Linked DNA regions of Homo sapiens: region 1 is linked to region 2. Evidence: promoter capture Hi-C in 16 types of primary human blood cells and fetal thymus (Javierre and others, 2016). All regions are on one chromosome and are shown on one strand. The core of a region is centred on a gene start or on the middle of the fragment in contact, and the rest is flanking DNA. Distances in the headings are between cores, read along the strand shown. Region 1 holds the start of SLC3A2 (solute carrier family 3 member 2). Region 2 holds the start of DHCR7 (7-dehydrocholesterol reductase).

Region 1 (6,674 bases), core at 230-2,729, 8.6 Mb after region 2:
CCCAGACGCCGCGTTCATCGGCTGCTTCTCGGGCTCTAACTCATTCAGCTCCACCTCCTTCATATCCACCTCGGTGTCCTGGCTCATGGTGCCTGCAGAACCGGCGACACGACGCAGCTTGCGGTCAGATGGTGGCTCAACCCCTACCTGGACCCTCGGACCCAGAACGCTCTCCCCGGCCTCTGTGCCTCCGCGCAGTTTCGGCTACTGCATCTGCTCAGCAGCAGGCGCGGCCTCTGGGAAGGGGCAGCGGAGCCCCGCCCCGGCCCGCCCCTTAAGGTGGAACCTCGGGGACTGCCCCAGCCGTGGGCGGCTCAGGGTAGTAAAGTCAGGAACACGCCTCCGACAGTACTTCCTGCATGGTCCAATTTCTCATCTCCAACCTGTCTAACCCTAAAGTTCTTTTCAACCTGATTCTGGGAAGGCCTGGCACGGAGCCACCTTTAAGTGGACTAGGCCTGTGATCCTGCCCCAAATCCCGAGGCCCCTCCAGTGTCCTTTAGGCCTTACCGCCCCCAAACGCCCCTCTTCTTCCATTCCGGCAGGCTAGTGACTACCCCAACACCATCCTCCATTTGCCCCTGGTTCACGGCTCCGGCCGCCGTCTGGTTTTCCCAACTTTGCATGGCTACTTGCACTCTCAGAGGCAGCCAGTCACAACTTCTGCCTTTTCCCCCACCAAGGCTTGCCCTCTCAGGCCTCTGGGACTTGGCGCTAGACCTCTGCTAGACCTCTGCTTCCGTGCACGGCTTACTCCCACTCGTTTTTCAAGACTCATCTTGAATTCATTTCAAGAAATTCCTCATGCAGCAACTATTTATTGTGTACTCACTACAATACTTTGCTTTGTTAACTTTATTGAATTTAACACTAATCCAGCCTTCTTCACAGTACTTTAAAATGAATGGTTTGGGCAGGAAGGTTGAGGTAGACACCCCCCTTCTTATCCTACCCCACCCCCAGCTGCTAGCACCTGGATGTTTGGCAGCTAGGAATCAGACATCCAGAAGAGACTGATAGGGCTGTAATGAACATAACAGAGCTAGGTCTCAGAGGCATCCACCTTTTTTGTGGAATAGACCAGAAGATGCCATGGCCAGACTCTTACCCACCTTGCAGGAACTCCCACAGTTATCCCCAAACTCCCCCAAGGTCCTGTCTCCCTATCACTTCACTATGTTAGGCCTTGGAGGCAGCTGGTACTGCAGAGGCTTTGAAGAAGCCTAGAATTCCCTCCACAGGGTCCTTGGATTGAAGTGGGGCAGAGACAGGGTTCACAGCAGGGAACTACCGGACATCAACACCGTGGGGTGCCAACACTCTCAGGAACTCCTTGTTCCTAAACAGTGCCAGTTGGGCTACTTTCAGAGAGGAGCTGGAGGAAATCGGTTCTTTCTCCCTTTCCCACCTAGGCTGGAAGCCAAGATTGCTGTGTATTTGGAAGAAAGCAAAAGCCAAGATCTGAAGTAATAGCATAGAGAAAAGGGTCACCCTCTGCTAGTCCCCTCTGCAACCCCAGGCATCCAACCCCATCCCCACCCTAGGAACAAGGGGTGCACGGGGCAGCCCCTGGGAGAAGGCAAGCAAGTGGGTTCAGACCAGTGCTCAAAGATAATAAGAGATCCAAGGTGCCCTGCATGTGCCAGATAAGAAGTGCCAACCAGAGGTTCTGAATGGACTATATCTCGAGCACAAAAGCTCAAGGCTGGGCGCAGTGTGACTCATGCCTGTCACCTAGCCCTTTAGGAGGCCAAGGAGGGAGGATTCCTTGAGGCCAGGAGTTTAAGACCAGACGGGGCAACATAGTGAGACTCCATTTCTAAATAAATAAAAAAATAAATTTTAAAATTATCTGGGCCTGGCTGGGTGTGGTGGCTCACACCTGTAATCCCACCTACTAATCCCTGTAATCCCACTTCTCATGCTGTGGCATGAGAATCGCTTGAACCCAGGAGGTAGAGGTTGCAGTGAGCCAAGAATGGGCCACTGCACTCCAGTCTGGGTGATAGAGCAAGACTCTGCCTCAAAAAAACTAACAGGCCAGGTGTGGTGGCTGACACCTGTAATCCCAGCACTTTGGGAGGCTGAGGGTGGCGGATAACTTGAGGTCAGGAGTTCGTGACCAGCCTGGCCAACATGGTGAAACCCCATCTCTACTAAAAATACAAAAATTAACTGGACATAGTAGCACACGCCTGTAGTCCCAGACTTGGAGGGGTGAGGCATGAGAATCGCTTGAACCCGAGAGGCAGAGGTTGCAGTGAGCCAAGATTGCGCGGCTGCACTCCAGCCTGGGTGACAGAGTGAGACTCTGTCTCAAAAAAGAAAAAAAAAGGCCAGGCGTGGTGTCTCACACCTGTAATACCAGCACTTTGGGAGGCCGAGGCAGGTGGATCAAGAGGTCAGGAGACCGAGACCATCCTGGCTAACACAGTGAAACCCCGTCTCTACTAAAAATGCAAAAAAAAAAAAAAAAAATCAGCCAGGCGTGGTGGCGGGTGCCTGTAGTCCCAGCTACTTAGGAGGCTGAGGCAGGAGAATGACGTGAACCTGGGAGGCGGAGCTTGCAGTGAGCCAAAATCGCGCCACTGCACTCCAGCCTGGGATACAGAGCAAGACTCCGTCTCAAAAAAAAAAAAAATTATCATCTGTAATTGGTGATGTGCCCCTGGAGTCCCATGAGATGCCAACACTCAAGGGAAGCAAAAGCAGGAGGATCACTTGAGTCCAGGAGTTTGTGAGGCTGCAGTGAGCCATGGTGGCACCACTGCATACCAGCCTAGGAGACAGAGCGAGACCCTGTCTCTAAAAATAAGTAAGAACAAGGTTGAGAACTGTGGGGTCAGAAGCTGTCTTTGAGATGGTCCAACATGACACAGTATCTCACTCACAGATCCTCATGGCTCCAAATGGCTGAAGTCAATTCCTTTTGTTTTTTGTTTTTTTTTTTTTGAGACAGGGTCTCACACTGTCACCCAGCATGGAGTGCAGTGGCGCGATCTCAGCTCACTGCAACCTGTGCCTCTCAGGTTCAAGCGATTCTTCTTCCTGAGCCTCCCCAGTAGTTGAGATTATAGGAGGCGTGCACCGCCACACCCGGCTAATTTTGTATTTTTAGGAGAGACAGGGTTTCACCATGTTGGCCAGGCTGGTCTTGAACTCCTAACTTCAGGTGATCTGCCCGCCTCAGCCTCCCAAAGTGCTGGGATTACAGGCATGAGCCACTGTGCCCAGCCTGAAGTCAATTCCTTCTGCATGCATAAAGAGGATAACAGCTTGCCTCTCCAATCTTATCAGCCACCACCTGCTTCACAGGCACTAGCCTCCAGCCACATCAGCCTTCAAACACCTGCCAGACTCACAACACACCAGGCTTTTTCAGGCAGAGCTCTGCATCTTGTACATGCCATACCTCTGCTGTTGGCCCTTCCTGTTTGTCCACTCAACCTCATGAGTTCCTATTCATTCAAGATCTAGCTCAAGTGACAGCTTTTCTCAACTCCCCAGACAAAATTACTTTCCCTCCACCATGCATCTGCCTCTGCTACAATCATGTCCCATTTGTTTATTACATTTGTTTGTCTGGATGTCTCTTTGTCCTTGAAGACAAGTGGCAGGAGCCTTGTGCTATTGTGGACGAACCTGCCTATTCGGAGGCAGCATATAGTAGGCACTTCGCAAGTGTTTGGTAAATAAGTGGATGAACTATGTCAATCAAAACCAATATCTCCCTTCTTAGAAACAACTAAACAGGCTAGGCACGGTGGATCACACCTGTAATCAGCACTTTGGGAGACCAAGGCAGGCAGATCAATTGAGGTCAGGAGTTCAAGACCAGCCTGGCCAACATGGTGAAACGCTGTCTCTACTAAAAATACAAAAATTAGCCAGGCGTGGTGGTGGGCACCTGTAATCCCAGCTACTCCGGAGGCTGAGGTGAGAGAATCACTTGAACCCAGGAGGCAGAGGTTGCAGTGAGCCCAGATCGCACCACTGTACTGCAACCTGGACAACACAGCAAGACTATCTCTCAAAAAAAAAAAAAAAGAAAAGGAAGAAGAAAAAAGAAACAACTGAAAAAAACTAGCATGTGAAGACAAAGGCAGGAAAATGAAAAGGAATTTAAATAACGCTGTATCATATCAAGATAAACCTGTTGCTGCAGGAAAACAAACCAAGACTTGTAACTGTTCAACCAAAATAAAACAAACTGCCAGGCACTGTGGCTCACCTGTAATCCCAGCACTTCCGGAGGCCGAGGCAGTCGGATCAATTGAGGTCAGGAATTCAATATCAGCCTGGCTAACATGGTGAAACCCCGTTTCTACTAAAAATACAAAAATTAGCCAGGTATGGTGGTGCGTGCCTGTAATTTCAGCTACTCAGGAGGCTGTGGCAGACAAATCACTTGAACCCATGAGGCAGGGATTGCAGTGAGCCAAGATCGCGCCATTGCACTCCAGCCTGGGCAACAAGAGCAAAACTCTGTCTCAAAAAAATAATATAAAATATAATAATAAAACTAATAAATTAGGAGATGGAGGACAGGAAAACAAAAAGACTACAGAGAAAAGACTAGAGAAATGGACCAGAGGTGAGTAAAGAGCCTCAGATCCTGCCATATGTGTTGATATAAAGCTTAATATTTACTATAGGAACACAAAGAATATAATTTTTCAAGAATTTAGCCTTCAAGAGAAGGCTGGGCAAAGCAAAGGAAAAAAAGCAGTTTGGCAGCCCAGATGCCAATAAGGTCCACTTTACACTCAGACAGACAGATGGCGGTGGAGCCCTGAAATGCAGGGGGCCAAGTATATAAAGAAAGTTCCTTTCTAACCCTCTGCTGCAAAAATCCATGTCACATGCTTCCTAACACATGAGGATTATTACTTGATCTTAGCCTGAAAACAGGACATTTATTTTTCCTCAAACATGTAAAAAGGATTGACCAGGCACAGCAGCTCATGCCTTTAATCCCAGCGCTCTGGGAAGCTAAGGCAGGAGGATCACTTAAGCCCAGTAGTTTGAGACCAGCCTCGGCAACATAGGGAGACCCCATCTCTACAAAAATTAACAAATTAGCCAGGCATGGTGGCTCACCCCTGTGGTCCCAGTTACTAAGGAGGCTGAAGTGGGAGGATCACTTGAGCCCTCAGGTTGAGGCAGCAGTGAGCTGTGATCACAATCACACCATTGCATTCCAGCCTGGCTGACAGGGTGACCCTATCTGAAAACAAACAAACAGGCTGGGCGCAGTGGCTCATGCCTGCAATCCCAGCACTTTGAGAGGCTGAGGCGGGCGGATCACCTGAGGTCAGGAGTTTGAGACCAGCCTGGCCAACGTGGTGAAACCCCATCTCTACTAAAAATACAAAAATGAGCTGGGCATGGTGGTGGCTGCCTGTAATCCCAGCTACTCAGGAGGCTGAGGCAGGAGAATCGCTTGAACCTGGGAGGCAGAGGTTGCAATGGGCCCAGATCGTGCCATTGCACTTCAGCCTGGGCAACAAGAGCAAAACTCCATCTCGAAAAATAAACAAACAACTAAAAACATCTAAGAAGGACTTTTTTTTTTGAGATGAAGTCTCGCTCTGTCGCCCAGGCTGGAGTACAGTGGTGCGATCTCAGCTCACTACAAGCTCTGCCTTCCAAGGTTCACACTATTCTCCTGCGGACTCCAGGTGCCCACCACCACGCCCAGCTAATTTTGATTTTTTTGTGTATTTTTAGTAGAGACGGGGTTTCACCATGTTAGCCAGGATGGTCTTGATCTCCTGATCTCGTGATCCACTCGCCTCGGCCTCCCAAAGTGCTGGGATTACAGGCGTGAGCCACCGTGCCCGGCCACATCTAAGAAGGATTTCTAAAGGCAGAGAGAAGATGGGAGGACAGCTAGAAACTCTTCAGGAGACTGTCTCTGTCCAACAGCCTCCATAAATCTTCGAAAGCCCAAGACTCTATTCCAAAGACCCAGAAACAAAACATCAAAGCTGCCTCTAAAATACCAATCAGCCAGAAATCTTGAAGATTTTAGCCATTTGAAAAATGAGGCCAGTGTGGTGGCTCATGCCTGTAATCCCAGCATTTTGGAAGAATGAGGCGGGCAGATCATTTGAAGTCAGGAATTCGAGACCAGCTTGGCCAACATGGCAAATCCCCATCTCTACTAAAAATACAAAAATTAGTCGCACACGATGGCGGGTGCCTGTAATCCCAGCTACTTGGCTGAGGCAGGAGAATCCCTTCAACCTGGGAGGCGGAGGTTGCAGTAAGCTGAGATTACACTGCACTCCAGCCTCGGTGACAGAGCAAGACTCTGTCTCCAAAAAAAAAAAAAAGAAAAAGAAAAAGGAAAGATGGGTGAGGAATTGAGCATTTGGAAGTCAAAGCGTGGCTGAAATTAAAGCAGAGAAAAAGACTCCAACTAAAGCAGTTCACTTCGCAGCTACTATCTGAAGAACCCATGTCAGAATACTATTAATTGTTACTATGAATCCTATAGGAGGGACACTGGCTGCTAAAGAAGAGACCTGTCAGGGTTGTCTTACTAAAGGGTGAAGAATGCAAAGTGGGGATAAAAGCCAGAAAGAGTGAAAGAAATAGAACCAAAGTCATCTCTTAGGAGAAGAGAAATAAATGCACCATCTGAAAAGTATCCAGTATTCAAGTAAGTT
Region 2 (7,018 bases), core at 3,896-6,395:
CACTGGCGGGGTCATTGCCCATTATCTCACCTGATCCCATGCCCAGGGCCGAGAGTTTCCCAGGGCAAGGCTGTGAGCACGCCACGGGCAAGCCTGGGCCCAGCCACGGTGCCCGTGCGCCACCCCAAACCGGTGCCCCCGCCGCCCCAGACTCACTCTTTAAAATTCTTTGCAAATTGCCCTCGAAGTCCAGGGCCCACTGGTTGAGTGCGCAGGTGGCCACGGTCACCTTCCGGCCCATCCTGGCCGCAGTCGCTTGGGCAGGAGGCCAGCGGGGGACAGCAAGACCAGGGTCCCAGCGAGGTAGGCGGCTGGGACGCCGGACCTTCCGGGTTGCCCGGCCCCGCCCCCTCCCCGCCCATCCGTTGAGGCTCCGGCCAAGGAGGACTGCGGCGTCAGGCCCTGCCTACGGATCGCCCCGCCCCGTCTGAGGAGCTCACGACCGCGCCTGCGCAGCGAGGTGGCCTCAGCGTTCACGGCACCGCGAAGGGCCCCGCCCCCGCCCCGGCTCCACCCACGTCCCAGGCCCCGGCCCCGGCCCGGCCCTTGCGGGCAAACCCGTTCAGGTGCACAGGTGCAGGGGGCTCACCGCCCAGCTGCAGCACCCCTCTATTTTATCCCACACCGCCACCCCACATCCAGCTTAGCCATGTTTTATTTTAATACGGCATGAAACGTTCCAAATACACCAAAAGTGGAGAGTACGGTAGGAGCGCTCCATCGTGCCCGCGGGACAGCAGACGATAGCAATCGATTCTCCGTGCTGGGAATCCCGCCACCCTGGGCGGATGGCGCTGAATTCTTGGGAACCCTCTCCTGCCCCTTTCACTCCTGTACCACGTGTGTAAGTAGCTCAGGTAGCGCACTGTTTGCCTTTTCTGAAACTACAGGAACTGCACTTGAATGTGCTTCTGCAACTTGATTTTTTCCCCTGTAATATGAGATACGTTCTTTTAATTATTTTTCTGCAGTTTGGTATTCCATAGTGGCAGTAAAGCAGGTTTATTCAATAGCGGATGGGCATTGACGTTATTAGCAGCGTTTTGCCAACAGACGCACGCACACAGGCACTGCTGCAATTTCCTTTCCGGCAAGGTTTCCTTCGTGACCTCGTTCCGCCAGTTCCTGCAGCAGCTTTGCAGAGTAGTAGGGTTCGTGCTGTTTGACTTTACTAAATATTGCCAAGTCTCTTCTCCAGGGCGCTTGCACCGATTCACTACCAGCGGTTTCTCACTTTTTATTTTTTCACATTTCCTCTTTAGTCCACCCACGGTAGAATCCATTTTTCCCCCATATAAATAACTGCCTCATCATCGTTGCTTGAAGAGGCCATCCTTCCTTCTGTCATTCATGTTAGTTTAAAAACACACAATTCACAAATTTGGAAAAAGAGAAGGCTTTATTTCTTGTAAACGGTCGTAGCCTGCAAGGTGGCGGCCATCTGTCTGAGGCTGGGAATCTGTCTCCAGCCAAGGCCAGAGACAGGCACGTCCAAGGAGGAGGGGTTGGGGCAGGAGCGCTATGCTGAAGGGATTGGCTAAACATACATATTCAACAGGTAACAGGAGGAGCTATGAATATTCATGAAGGTGGTCCTGACACATGCCCTCTTATTGAGCAAAGCATGTAATATATGACCCATGTTCACTTTGGGGTGGAGACTTAACATTTACACATCTTACAATTAGGGCCTTTATGGCAAAACGTCTTTTCAGGACACAAAGGCATGCAGGTGCATCATCTCTCTCTATTAACGGGTCAGCTGGTCGGCATGGTCAGCTGGTCGGTGGTCTCTTATTAGGAGAAAGTCACTGAAATCAGTCTCTTGTCCAATCACAGCTGCTATGGCTGGTGAAACAGAGTCAGTTAGTTGGCACCTAGTGGAGCTGCAATTGTTTTAATATTCCCTATCCCAAGGCTAGTGTGTGTTTGGCTAATAGAGAAACAGAAAGCCTTGTGGCTCTTAGAATATAGTTTATTCTCTAAGTGTGGGTTGCCTGACTTACCCTCGCCTAGCATGGCTTTGGGTCCTGTTTATAATTTGGTATCTTATTGCCACAGAGTCCGTTCTGTCAGTCTTACGATCTCTGTTTTAACATGAATGCCGGCCAGTTGTGGTGTCCAAACTCTGAAACAGGGGGCTATTACCAGGCGCATCTGACCTCCCATCCCATCATGTCTGGGAATTCAGTGTTGAGGTTTTTCTGGTGTCCCCTTGGTCAGGAGAAGGTCCCTTTGGTCAATGGGGGGCTTAGGATTTTATTTTTACCTTATGTACATATACCCGTTTTCACATTTTGAATCACTTTTTTTCCTGTCTATAAAGTAGTGCTTGTTCATGACAATTTGGAAACTCCACAAAAGCACCAGAATGTTATACATGCTAACTTATTTAATCCTCACAGTAGTTTTCATGCTTCTGAAATCCACACGATCTGCTCAAATTATCTCCTGCCAACAATGGCTGATGCCAGGCCTGGGCAGAGAAGGGGAGGATCCTTGAACATCTGGTTGTCCCAGAAAATAAGTAAGTACTCAAAGGATGGTAGATACATGTCATATGAAAAAAGAAGCCAATTTGAAGGGGCTCCCGTTAGCTAAATACAGGACAATACAGTAAGGATCATAACTCGGTCAGCTAAATCCATTAGGGCATACTGATAAAAAATAAATCAAAGAGGAAATCCCTACAGAAGAATGCTTGCTAATAAATAATTTATTAATAAATGTTGAGGGAATGATAAAATTAGAAAATTAACACTTTGTCCCAAGAAATAAGGGATTCAGGCAAGATTCCTCATTAAATGCTAGTTCACTGGGTGAAAGGTCATTTGGGAACAGCATATTTACAGTCTCAAAGTATCACTGCACCAATTACTCATTAATAACAAAAGGAAAAATGGAGACTTCTGGCAGAAACCACGGAGCCCCACTATCAATCATGGAGCACAGTGATATGTTGTCTTAAAAAAGAAAATTTTAGGACTCTTGAAATTTATTAGGTCAACTTGGGCAACAGAGCAAGATCCTGTCTTTAAATAAATAAATAAAAATAAATAAATTTATTATGTCAAGAGGGAAGTTAAGTCCTAGAAACTGGGTCACATAGCATGTTTGTAATTTTGTCTTTTAGATTATAGGCTGTTTTTCTTTATCATTCATGTTTTATAAATGACTAGGAGAGACCACAGACCAGGCCTGCTCCCCTTTTAATTACTGATCTTTATTATAGATTGTCTCTTATTATCCCGTACTTAGACCAGACTCCTACATCTTCAGTGTAAAATGTTAAATATACCTTCCACCTAAAAAAGACCACCTCAGCTGGTCAGATTATAACTTTATGCATAAAAAGATGTTAAAATTCTGTTAAACTTCCCTAAAATTTGTCTACATAAATGATCCCAAACATCTACAGTTCAAAATACTGATTTCCATTCTTTAAAATCTGTGCTTCCCAGGCAGCCTGTCCTCAAACTTTATACACTTAAATAAACTCTCTTTAAGCTAAATTCTGACCTGTTTGGTTATTTCAGGTTGACAGCCTTCTAACAAGATAAAACATGCTCTATGTAGTATATTATCCTGCCAAAAAAAGTGCATAGCCTGAATGCACAGTGTGGCTCCCTGATTAGATCCTGGGGTTTAAAAAAGGGCTGTAGGGCAGAGCTTCACACCTGTAGTCCCAGCACTGTAGGAGGCCACAGTGGGTGGATCGCTTGAGCCCAGGAGTTCGAGACCAGCTTGGGGAACATAGTGAGACCCCCCCCCCCACCCATCTCTACCAAAAAAAAAATAGCGTGTGGTGGTGTGCTCTTGTAGTCCCAGCTACTCAGGAGGGTGAGGGAAGAGAATCGCTTGAGCCCAGCAGTTCAAGGCTGCAGTGAGCTGTGATCGTGCCACTACACTCCAGCCTGTGTGACAGAGACCCCCGTCTTAACAAAGCAAAACAAAACAACAATAACAAAAGGGCTGTAAAGGGCATTATTGGGACAACCGCGGGAAACTGGAGATGGAAAATAGATAACAGCATTGAACTGATGTGGTCATTGTATTTTGGTAATATAGGAGGTTCTTGTTCTTAAGGAGTTGGATACCGAAGTATTTGGGAGGGGGGTATCACGGTATCTGCAGCTAATGGTGGGGGCTGAGTGGGGAGGAAAAAAGAAAAATACACATATATAAACACAGAGGGAGAGAAATGAAACGTGGCCAGCTGCTCACCCCTGCTGAACCTAGGAATCTGCGTGCTCACTTTACGTTCAACTTGTTTGTATGCTGAACATTTTTCAAAACAAAAAGGTGCAGGGAAAAAAGAAAACATGATGTCTCTCTGAGGGCCACAGAGACGTGGCAACCAGATCGCTCTGACAGTAAGGCCTGTTACCCGAGCTGTTGGGTGTGGGGTCAGCAGACACCTTCAGCTGCCCCCTCCTCCAGGGCTGCCTCGCCCCAGGTCATGCCCTCGCAACGTGGCCCGTGCGTCCGGCTCGCACTGTGGCTCAGCTTCTCCCTTTGCCCAGTCCTGCTGCTCCCTCCCCTCCCGTCCTCGCACAGGTGTGCCCCCCTAATAAGCAGGCCACCCAGACTCCATCTCGGGTCACTTTGGCGGTCTCCCAGCGGCGAGCCTTCCCTGACACCCATGTGTTTACCTGATCGTTTATGGAGGATCCTCTTCGCCCCGGGACGTGAGCCCTAGGACCAAGAACTGTGTCTGTTTTGCTCCTTGCGGTGCACCGGCGCCTGGACATACGCTCCATCAATGTGCGTCGCGAGCCGCTGAAGCCCCATTTGCCGAGGGGGAAACTGAGGCACGATGATCCAGGTGATGAGCCTGGCGCGTTCTCCGCGCGGCCCACGTGGCCACTCCGCCACGCCCCACCCCCAGCTGGTCAGCTGGGATCCCGAAGAAGCGCCAGAGGCTGCGCCCACCCACTAGGGCCCGGGCGGGCCGGTGGGGCGGCAGGGCGGGGCCTGGGCCGTCAATCTCGAGTCCGGCCGCTGCCGAATGGCGGGCGCGGTGGGCCCGGAGTCAGCTCAGGCTCCTCGACCAATCACGGGGCGCGGAGCCGCCGGGCGTGCAGGGTCCGCCTCCGATTGGCAGGCAATCGCTGACATCATCCGGGGGCGGGCGCCCCTGCCCTGCGGGTGACTCCGACCCCTGGCTAGAGGGTAGGCGGCGTGGAGCAGCGCGCGCAAGCGAGGCCAGGGGAAGGTGGGCGCAGGTGAGGGGCCGAGGTGTGCGCAGGTGAGTGGCCAAGGTGTGCGCAGGTGAGGCCAGGGGAAGGTGTGCGCAGTGGGGGGCGCTTGCCCAGGTGAGCAGGTGCCCACTCACAGGGCGAGGGTGGGGTCAGGGGTAGGGGGCGTGCGCGCAGGTGGGGAGAGGGTCCAGCTCACAGGCGAGGGGCCGCTGGGGCTCCGGGGAGGCGGGGCGGAGGCGTGGATAGTCCCCCTCCCCCACGAGCCGGCGTCTGAGGGATGCTCTGTCCCCGCGCTGTCTGGAGCTTCCCCGGGCGAAGGCTGCCTGGCTCCGGGGTCGGCTCCTGGCCCCATGCCGCGCTCCGCGGCGGCTCTTTCTCCTGCCCCACCTGTTGTTCGCCTCCCTCTTTGTCAGTGCTGAGCCAGGCACAGCAGCTTTGCGATGGGACTGGCTTGTCCGCCGTCCTCCCTGACATGCGGCTGTTGAAGCCCTGAGCACTGGACCTTCTGCCTCTTGCTTGACTCCTACTGTGGGCCTTGAGCTTCTGCCCTCTCCTGAAATGTCAGCTGCCTGCGGTCTTATTCATTTTTGTGTTCCTTGCAGGACTTTAGCCGGTTGAGAAGGATCAAGCAGGCATTTGGAGCACAGGTGTCTAGAAACTTTTAAGGGGCCGGTTCAAGAAGGAAAAGTTCCCTTCTGCTGTGAAACTATTTGGCAAGAGGCTGGAGGTAAGTGTATCTCAGTGCCCTGGATCGTGGGCGCAGGCTATGGCTTCACAGCGTTGAAAGTACAGACAGACTGGTCCACCAGCTCTCGAGTGCCAACGACTGTCTGTGCCTCTTATGAGTAAAATACAACATACCAGGGCACCTCCCCTTTGTCTGTTCCCAGCCGTCTATTGGGAAGGATGTTACTTAGATGTTTATTGCACAACTCAATGCTTGTGGCTAAAGAGCTGACTCCTGGGTGAATGAACTCTGTAATAAGCTAAAAGTACTTCTTTGGTCTTGTTTTAATCCCTTTTGACAACATTCTCCCAGTGGCTTTTTCACACTTTAGTTCTGAGGTTACACATCCCCTGACCCTTTTGCAATTTCCCAGTGTTTTACATAATTGATAATGTTGGTACCAGGCATTGTCCCCTTGTAGCTTATCCATGGCTTGGGGCAAGACGAATGCCACCCCATTCTACTTAGCCTTCCTGTAAGGCAAGTGTGCATGTGGGTGGTCTGGATTAACACCAGTCAGTGTGGGAACTAGGGATCGGAGGGAGTGGGGGCACTGAGCTGGTAAGTTTTGGCTGGGAAGAAACTAAGCTTGTATCTTACCTTGATGAGAGCCTGGGGGAGAGGAACTGTCTAAAGCAAGCCAGCTTGTCCAGGTGGCTGTGATCTTGAGATCAGACTCACTAGCGTGTCAGCTTTTCTCAGAAGTAGTTTTCTTTCATCCACTTTGATTTTACAGATATAAGGAGAGTGACTGGCACTCGCCAGGCTCTGTATTCAGTATTTGGGGCCGGAGAGAGACACGGTCTCTTCCTATCAAGAACTCTTCGTCTTGTTTTGTGCATCATAGGAACTGCATAAACTAACTTGTGTAAATTGAATGAAGTGCGGGTACTGAAGTTCTCACACTGCATAAGGAAAATGTCTTTCATCGTTGAAATTTTTTAAATGTGTGTGAATTTTTATTAAAGTAATTCATGCACACATTTTTTTAAAAATCAGTGTTAAAAGGCTTCAGAAGAAATACTCTCTACCACATCCCACATCCGACAGTCTTGCTTGCCAGCAGCAAACACTTTTCATTCTTTCAGCT

The links. The method cuts DNA at HindIII sites, captures the fragments that hold promoters and counts their contacts. A CHiCAGO score of 5 or more calls a contact.
Region 1: a fragment that was not itself captured here is called in contact with the fragment with the promoter of DHCR7 in region 2 in 1 of 17 cell types (neutrophils); the score reaches 6.0 in neutrophils.

The regions. Positions count from the first base shown.
Region 1 is chr11:62,874,437-62,881,110 of GRCh38, reverse strand. SLC3A2 (solute carrier family 3 member 2) reads right to left here and starts at 215. Exons shown (of 9, transcript NM_001013251.3): 1 at 1-215. The coding sequence starts at 87. RefSeq lists enhancers at 1-193, 1-474, 844-893. The HindIII fragment of the contact is 6,323 bases long and covers 1-4,640 here.
Region 2 is chr11:71,446,520-71,453,537 of GRCh38, reverse strand. It overlaps DHCR7 (7-dehydrocholesterol reductase), which reads left to right and starts at 5,145. Exons shown (of 9, transcript NM_001360.3): 1 at 5,145-5,248; 2 at 5,804-5,928. DHCR7-DT (DHCR7 divergent transcript) reads right to left here and starts at 5,010. Exons shown (of 2, transcript NR_186309.1): 1 at 4,653-5,010; 2 at 1,381-1,848. NADSYN1 (NAD synthetase 1) reads right to left here and starts at 335. Exons shown (of 21, transcript NM_018161.5): 1 at 157-335. The coding sequence starts at 241. RefSeq lists enhancers at 1-179, 1,417-1,496, 1,617-1,666, 4,612-5,113 and silencers at 237-606, 4,839-5,478. The HindIII fragment of the contact is 9,377 bases long and covers 1-6,518 here.